Linked DNA regions of Homo sapiens: region 2 is linked to region 1. Evidence: promoter capture Hi-C in 16 types of primary human blood cells and fetal thymus (Javierre and others, 2016). All regions are on one chromosome and are shown on one strand. Each heading gives the region's core, a stretch centred on a gene start or on the middle of the fragment in contact. The rest is flanking DNA. Distances are from core to core; before and after follow the strand shown. Region 1 holds the start of PIH1D2 (PIH1 domain containing 2). Region 2 overlaps DIXDC1 (DIX domain containing 1).

The links. The method cuts DNA at HindIII sites, captures the fragments that hold promoters and counts their contacts. A CHiCAGO score of 5 or more calls a contact.
Region 2: a contact is called between a fragment that was not itself captured here and the fragment with the promoter of PIH1D2 in region 1, in 1 of 17 cell types (erythroblasts). The highest score is 5.1, in erythroblasts.

Annotation. Positions count from the first base shown.
Region 1 is chr11:112,072,005-112,076,227 of GRCh38, forward strand. It overlaps PIH1D2 (PIH1 domain containing 2), which reads right to left and starts at 2,013. Exons shown (of 6, transcript NM_138789.4): 1 at 1,976-2,013; 2 at 994-1,201. The coding sequence starts at 1,170. It overlaps NKAPD1 (NKAP domain containing 1), which reads left to right and starts at 2,295. Exons shown (of 6, transcript NM_018195.4): 1 at 2,295-2,912; 2 at 3,563-3,639. The coding sequence starts at 3,571. RefSeq lists enhancers at 2,098-2,147, 2,558-2,677, 2,738-2,787. The HindIII fragment of the contact is 10,336 bases long and covers 1-2,989 here.
Region 2 is chr11:111,959,912-111,964,134 of GRCh38, forward strand. The region is part of intron 1 of DIXDC1 (DIX domain containing 1); the gene reads left to right. Among named protein-coding and RNA genes, the nearest start is that of DIXDC1, 25 kb to the left of the region's middle. The HindIII fragment of the contact is 199 bases long and covers 2,039-2,237 here.

The sequences.
Region 1 (4,223 bases), core at 763-3,262:
ATCGCTTGAACCCAGGAGGCGGAGGTTGCAGTGAGCCAAGATTGTGCCATTGCACTCCTGCCCGGGTGACGAGAGTGAAACTCCATCTCAAAAAAAACAAAAACAAAAACATTTAAAAAATAATATCCTAAAAGCCACTCACCACAGGAATGAAAGAATTTTAGGCTCCAAGTAAGTCATTTCATGTATTAAAACTGCGTTTGATTATACTGTTGTTATTTGATTTCCCCAAGGCTGCTGGCTTTTAATTAGGAATCCAGACTGGGGTGGTGGCTCACGTATGTTACCCTAGTACTTTGAGAGGCTGAGGTAGGAGGGTTGCTTGAGGCCTAGGAGTTCGAGATTAGCCTGTGAAACATAGGGAGACCCTGTCTCTACAAAAATCATTTAAAAATTAGCCGGGTGTGGTGATGCCCACCTGTGATCCCAGCTACTTGGGAGGCTGAGGTGGGAGGATCGCTTGGGCTGCAATGAGCTGTGATTGTGAGCTGTGATTGTGCCACTGCACTCCAGCTTGAGCGACAGAGCCAGCAAGACCCTATCTCAAAAAAAAAAAAAAAAAAAAAAAAAAAAAGTCTGCCAGGCGCAGTGGCTCATGCCTGTAATCCCAGCACTTTGGGAGGCTGAGTCAGGTGGATCACCTGAAGTCAGGAGTTCAAGACCAGCCTGGCCAACATGGTGAAACCCCGCCTCTACTAATAATACAAAAATTAGCCGGGCATGGTAGTACACACCTGTAATCCCAGCTACTTGGGAGGCTGAGGCAGGAGAATCGCTTAAACCCGGGAGGCAGAGGTTGCAGCGAGCCAAGACCACACCATTGCACTCCAGCCTGGTGACAAAGTAAGACTCTGTCTCAAAAAACAAAACAAAACAAAACAAAACAAAAAAAAAACAAAAAAAATTAGCAATACCTAAGTGTAAAGTATTCTCTGGTTATTCTGGGATCATTTCATTCAAGACCTCCCCATCCCTGGCACCAACTCGACATACCAGAATCCTGGTCTGTAGACAAAGCTGTGGTTCTGGGGCAGCACAGAGCTGTTTCCCTTCTTTCAGCTGCTGCTGAATAAACTTCTCATAGCCCTCAGGGTCACTCTGAGCTAGATCATCTAGGAGGTTCCAAAACTGAGTAACTTGGGTAAGCAGACCTTTTGAGGATGTCTCCATGACTTATGAGTGGTGAATAATTTTCTTAAGCCTGTGGAAAAACACGACTTCAGGAAGAAAACTGTCTGTGTAATTATTGATTCATTTCTGCTTTGGGGAGGTGGAATGGGTCAGGAATTGTTTTGGTGAAGTTAGGACAGCATTTGTGTCTAAAAGGTTGTGGATCAGCACCACTTTATGTTTTCCTTATTCTTTAATTATCTAGTACCTCTTCCTAAATTCTCACATTGTCCTCTCAGATAAGGCCTTACTTCTATTTGGACCCTGACAAGTCAGAGTAATCATTTTAAGTCTGGGTTTCCTGATCTTCTTGTTCCAACACCTGACTGGTGGCTCCCCAGTTCTGAAATTGCCAGAGGTGTGGTGTGGGGTGAGGGCCACATAAGACTTCCTTAATCCTCAGTATAGTTTAGTATTTCAAAGCATGGACTTGTGAGCCAGAATGCCTAGATTCCGGTCTTAGTTCTATCTCTCACTAGCTCTGTGACCTTGAGCAATTAATGTTCTGTTCAAAATGAAGACGATAATACCTCTACCATAGGATTATTGCGAGATTAAGTAAGCTAATAGAGAGGCTGGGACACTTCTCTACGTCTTCAGATAAATCTCCTTAGCCTCTTCTCCCATTGGAGAGGTGTCCCACAGCATCTTTAGAATGAGGAAAAGAGGTTTAGATTCTTCAATTACTGTGTAAGGGTTATGCTAAACGGGAAACTTAACTAACGGATAATCATTCCATAGGTCTGCAAACCCACCTCTTCTCTCAGTTCTAACGGGTAATCATTCTATAGGTTGGCAAACCCACCTCTTCTCTCAGTTCCTTGACAAACCGCGACGCCTGTTACCAGGGTAACCAGCCTGGGTACAACATCTAATTGGGTCCGGGGAACTTCAGGGAGAAAAGTCTCTTCATATCTAGTTCCGGAATGTCCCCCTTCTGGTGCCAGGCTTGCTTTTCAGTTGGGCCTGACCCACTTCTCTTCCAGGAAAGCGCCCGCCTTCCTTCTGCACCCGTCAACCTCTGGAGTGTCCTGAAAACCCTCCCTTGTGGGAGTCTCTGGGCTGCCTGTTGGTGGGACGATTTCTCAGGAGCACGACTTCCGGCCTGAAAAGGAAGTCTCCTCCTTTTTCTCCCAAACCACTTCTTCCCCCCTACCCCCCGCCACGCGAGGCTGCGGCGCACGGTATGGGTGTGTTTGTGTGTATTTGTGTGGGGAGGGCGTTTGGAGGGAAGGTTACCGGGAGCTCCGAGGCCGCTGGGGAACAGGGATCCCGGTGACAAAGATGGGGATATTTCCTCTGTCTTCCACTTGGAAACCTCAACCCCCGCTTCAGGCTCCCTAGATACTTTCTGGGGCCCAACCGAAGGCCGTAGCCATCCAAAGCGTTCCCAGCCTTTCTGGGGAGTGAAACTTACCCCCGGGGTTCGTCCTAGAGGAGCGTGAGCGGGGAATGCCCAGGTCAACCGGGCTGTCCGAATTCCGCCCCGGCTCAGCCTCCGGCCTCAGTCCGGGAGAGAGATCTGCCTGTCGGTCTGGGCTGGGGGAAACGCGGCAGTGGCCTGGGCCACAGGTGAGGGCAGAGTAACCAGTGGGAAGGCTGCGTTTTCACGAAGGACTCGGGTGAAGCTGCAGAGCTGCCTTTGAGCCCTGACTCCTTGGCTTCCTGGGTCGGAGGAGATCTTGTAATGGAGTGGTTCTTCGTCTCACTAGCAAGATGCCTGATTTCCTCAGGATCAAGGGGTGAGTGAGCGTTGGGGTGGTTGCACAAAGCTCCTGCTAGCTACACACGAAAATATTCTTGTCATCTAGTTTTTGGAAGCTTCCGTAGCAAGTAGGAAATAAAATGCCCCCAAATGGAGAAATTTAGGACATCTTTGCATTTGATGTTTTGAGTAATCAGTTTCTGTTACTGTTGACACCCGTGGTTCCTGACACTCTCAAATCTACGTATTTGCTTCAGTGCAAACTATATTGGGATTGGAGGTTTGATTTTTAATTTAGACAGTGACATACATCATTTGCCTGGGACTATGTGGCTTGGGACGTTACAGCTTTAAGGGAACTTCATCTACAAAATAGGGATGGAGATACTTGCCTCATATAAAAAGTAGTTATGAGGATTAAATAAAATGGTGCTCATGAAAGCACTTAATTTTATGTAGTCTTGTGCATTTTCAAAGAACTTTAATGTACATTATCTCCTTTCATCTCACATTAGTGTGTTTAGGCATTTCCCTCTTTTAATGGTAAAGGGAAAACTATTCTTTAGAATCTCTGACTTCTAGTTCAGTGATCTTTCCTGTACCTCATATGCTTCTTTATAAAACTTCAAGAAAAGATAAAGTAATAACAGAAATTATTACTAAACGTTATTTGTTGATTCATTTCAGATTGAAGAATGTCCCGGATTCCACTGGGGAAGGTCCTCCTGAGGAATGTCATCCGGCACACAGATGCTCACAATAAGGTGGGAGGTACAACCTAGTTACTCCTCAACGCTTACTGAAGGCAAGCAGTGTGCCAAGCATTATTTTGGAACAACTGGGAGATACAAAGAATATTCTTGTCATCTAGTTTTTGGAAGCTTCCGTACACAGTAGGAAATAAAATGATGAATAAAATAGATAATTATAATACAGTTTGATAAGTACTGTATAACAGAGATATTTGCAAAGTGCTTTGGAGCACTAAGGAGGAAATAATAAAATCTACACTGGGGAATTAGAAAAGATTTTACAGAATTAGTGGTATTTCAGCTGCTGATCTTTGAACTGGTTCTTGAATAGGTATACGTTTACCAGGTATGAAATATCATTCTGGATAGACAGCATCATGCATTAATATGGCAACGAGAAAGAGCATTAATCACTTGGGGCATGGCAAGAAATTTATCCAGAAAGCAGGGAAGGTAGGGGATAGTGGCAGAAGATAAGGCCTCAGTGGTAATTAGAGTTGGATTGTGATGTTTGGAGCTGAGACTTCTTCCTCTAGGCAATAAAGAAGCCATCAAATGTTTTTAAACAGGGTGTGGCATGATCATAGTTATATTTT
Region 2 (4,223 bases), core at 888-3,387, 110 kb before region 1:
GTTTTTGTTTGTTTTTGAGATGGAGTCTCATTCTGTCGCCCAGGCTGGAGTGCACTGGCGCAATCTCGACTCACTGCAACCTCCACCTCCCAGGCTCAAGTGATTCTCCTGCCTCAGCCTCCCAAGTATCTGGGATTACAAGTGTACACCACCACACCCGGCTAATTTTTGTATTTTTAGTAGAGACAGGGTTTCACCATGTTGGCCAGGCTGGTATTGAACTCCTGACCTCAAGTGATCCGCCCACCTTGGCCTCCCAAAGTACTGGGATTACAGGCATGAGCCACTGTGCCCGGCGAAATACAGCATTTTGAATAAAGAAGCTGTATGTCTTCATTACGTCTAGGGAGCATCAGGTTCTAGGTGTCATGGATTCAGATTTAGAAAAGCAGTAACAATTTTGGCCGGGCGCAGTGGCTCACGCCTGTAATCCCAGCACTTTGGGAGGCCGAGGTGGGTGGTTCACAAAGTCAGGAGTTCGAGACCAGCCTGGCTAACATGGTGAAACCCCATCTCTACTAAAAATACAGAAATTAGGTGGGCATGGTGGCTGGCGCCTGTAATCCCAGCTTCTCGGGAGGCTGAGGCAGGAGAATTGCTTGAACCCGGGAGGCGGAGGTTGCAGTGAGCCGAGATCATGCCACTGCACTCCAGCCTGGGAGACAAGAGTGAAACTCTGTCTTAAAAAAAAAAAAAAAGAAAAGAAAAAGAAAAACAGTAATACTTTTAACTATTTTATGTAAGGAATAGTTAACCTTGGCTCACATCTCTGCATGTTACTAGGAGCACTTGAGGAATACTGATATACCTTGGTCCCACTCTCAGAAATTCTGACTGCTCTATGGTGGGCCTAGACATTAGTATTTTTTGAAAAGCTTTCCAGGTGATTCTGGTTGTTAACCAAGGGGGCTGGGAACCCCTTGGTTAAGGGAACTGGACTGTTTCGCTGGGAAAAGACTCAAATCAGCTTTACAAGAATCATATGGGAAAGCTTGGGAAGATAAATCTTTCTGAGTTCCTACCCTCTGGAGACAACTGGTAGATTTAGGATGACGTCTGCTTATGAAAAACTTCCCTTGTGACCTTGACGTGCAGCCAGGTATGGCAACAGCGGGCTGGGTCAGTGCTTCTCATGCTTTCATGTGCATATGAATCACCAGGAGAGCTTGTTAAGATATAGGCTCTGATTCAGTAGGCTGGGGAGGAGCCCAGGAGTTTGCAGGAGGCTCCCAGGTGTTGCCGATGCTACTGATCTGGGAAGCACACTTTAGTAGACAGCCGCTTAGTATAGTTTATTACACAAGAGATTCATGGATTGGATGTGGTGGAGGGAGTGGTTTGACTCAGGTACATCCTGAAAGTTTTAGGGAAGTCATTTAAGCCTCAGCAGTGCATTTATTTAGGCAGCAGTGTGGTAGAGTGGAAAGAGCATTGGCTTGGGAGTCATATCTGGATTCCATATTCATGATTTACTGTTTGGGTAACCATGAACAAGTTATTTCACCGTTTTGTGTCTCTGTTTTCAATGAGGAAAATAAATACAAAAACATCTCCCTGCCAGATTAGCATTAGATAAAATGTGTTTAAAGAACCTAGCATAGCTCTTGATACAAAGTAGGTGTTCTGAAAAGTGACTATTACTGTTTATGCTGTGGAATCCTCTTTTGTTGGAAGACCAGACTGTGAGTAATGTGCATGAAAAGTACTCAACAGTACTAATCAGTTTTGCATCAGAGACAACTTCTACGGGCAAGAAAAAGCTAAGGTTACTTAAGTAGAAATTATCTTGACCTCAAGAAAAATACTTGTTCTTGTTTGTCCCCCCGCAATTAACTTTTGCAGTCATCTTAGTTATTGGCCTGATAAAATGTGACAAATGATTAACTGATTCAAACAAATATTTGTTGAGCACCTGCTACTCTAAGAGTCAAATAATTCTGAACTATTGTGACTCTCCACATAAAGCATATTTCAGGCCTTAGCTCCTTTGAGCTCACTGTCCTCTTTGCTTCTTTTCCTCCTTCAGGAGACCCTCTGAAGCTTGGGGTTCAGGTTGGGCTAATACTCTGTTAGCACCCTATGTACCCCGTCATAGCTTTGTTTCTACCAGCCTGCAAGCTGGGGCTTGTTGTAGCCTCATAACTGGGTACAGTGCCTCAAATTATTGTTGAACTGATTGTGTGACATAGGAAGCCCTCAGGGAGATCAGAGTCTGTGGTATCTGAGAGGTCAGGGAAAGCTTTCTGAAAAAAGTGATACTTGAGCTGAGACTTAAGAAGAGGCAGGTTGGCCGGGTGCGGTGGCTCATATCTGTAATCCCAGCACTTTGGGAGGCCTAGGTGGGTGGATCACCTGAGGTCAGGAGTTCAAGACCAGCCTGACCAATATGGTGAAACCCCATCTCTATTACAAATACAAAAATTAGCCCGGCGTGGTGGCAGGCACCCGTAGTCCCAGCTACTTGGGAGGCTGAGACGAGAGAATTGCTTGAACCTGGAAGGCGGAGGTTGCAATGAGCTGAGATCATGCCACTGCACTCCAGCCTGGGCGACAGAGCAAGACTCCATCTCCAAGAAAAAAAAAGAGGCAGGAGTTAGAAGGAGGTGGAGCGGCTGGAAAGCATGGTGCATTTGGGGAACTGTACATAATTCAGATGAGCTGAAGCATGGTGGGTATTTGGGGAATGGGGGTGAAGCTGGAGAACAGGTGAAGGCTAGCACGTGACGAGCTTAAATGGCAATTGGATTTTATCTTTGAGGATAATTGGAGACAAGTAACAGATTTTAAGCAGGAATGTGTGGAGGGTGGGTTGAGGATGATAATAGATACAGGGAAATTGGTTAGGAGTTTTATATAAAAGCCAGGTAATCAGATCCCACCAGTCACCTTAGTGTTCTTTCTGGGCTTAACTGCTTTCCCTCAGACCAGAGTGGTTCACTCTAGAGGTGCCCTTTGCCTGGTCTGCTTCTGACTGCACAATGGGAGCAGACCTTGGAGCATCACAGATCTCATCTGGTCCCTGGTGATGGGTGTCTGGCCCACGTGAGGCAGAAGGTGCAGCCATTTCTGTTCTGTGGAGTAAGTTGGATAGCAAGAGACCCTTGGTAAATGCATGGACAACATTACTGGGTTTTAATACCATGTCTGCTATGTCCTAGCTATGGGGACATTAGAGAAGTTACATAACCTCTCTGAACCTCATCCATAAAATGGAGATAATGCTAACTCTAGTGTTTTTCTGAGAATTGAATTGGATGACGATGACAAAAATAATGTCATTTAGTACATTTAGTAAGCGTCAATTTTATGTCAGGCCCTGGCCCAGGTACCTTCACTAATTAAAACATGGGTCAAACACCAAAAATTGGTTTAGTTCATGATAGGTGCTCAATAAATATTAGATTCCTCCTCCCACCTCCTCCTGATCGTTGCACTTCCTACAGTTTGTCAGTGGCTGATGGATTGTTGTCTTAGCACTGTCTTCCAAACGATGTTATTTATTCTCACAAATTGACAAAGAGAGAAAATAATGACGATTTAATTTATGTTCAGGAAGCAGCCAGTGAGTAATTTCCAACATTGTTTCATTAAGGAAGTACTTGGGGCTTAGGAATCAACTGTATTTTAACCAAATTATAAATTAATACAATTAGCCCTTGAACTTAAATTTTAGGCTCAGGGTCCTGGGCTGCAAAGAAACCAGTCAGAGCTGCTACTTGGAGAGTGACATTGTTTGTGTGATATTTTGATATTAGTGCCCATCTTTTGACCAAATAATCAGCATAAACATCTGAATACCAGTTCTGTTTAATGGACAAAATGTAATATGTAAGGTTTCCAAGGGTTGGAATGAGTTGTATGTCCCTACGTAGATGCCTGACCAGTTTCTGATAATACTGGGCCCTAGCTTTGTCTAAAAGTAAATGAAAATGCCTCTTAGTCTTCAGTAACATTGCTCACTATAGCCTTTCTTTTTCCTTCTTTGTGTAGATTTTCGGTAACCAGATCCTCTTTGACAATATAAAGCATGGATTAAAACTAACTCTGTAGCAATCCTAGGATTATTGGCTCAGGAGAATAAATCTTGGGTTGACTGTGAGATGATTTCACTTAAGTCTCATTTTGAAGAAAGCAGCTATGGGAGAGGCAGCTCTGAGCATGGTTTATTGTTTATTCCTGGTTGCCCAAGAGCAATTCGTATGAGTATCAGAGTCTGTTATGCA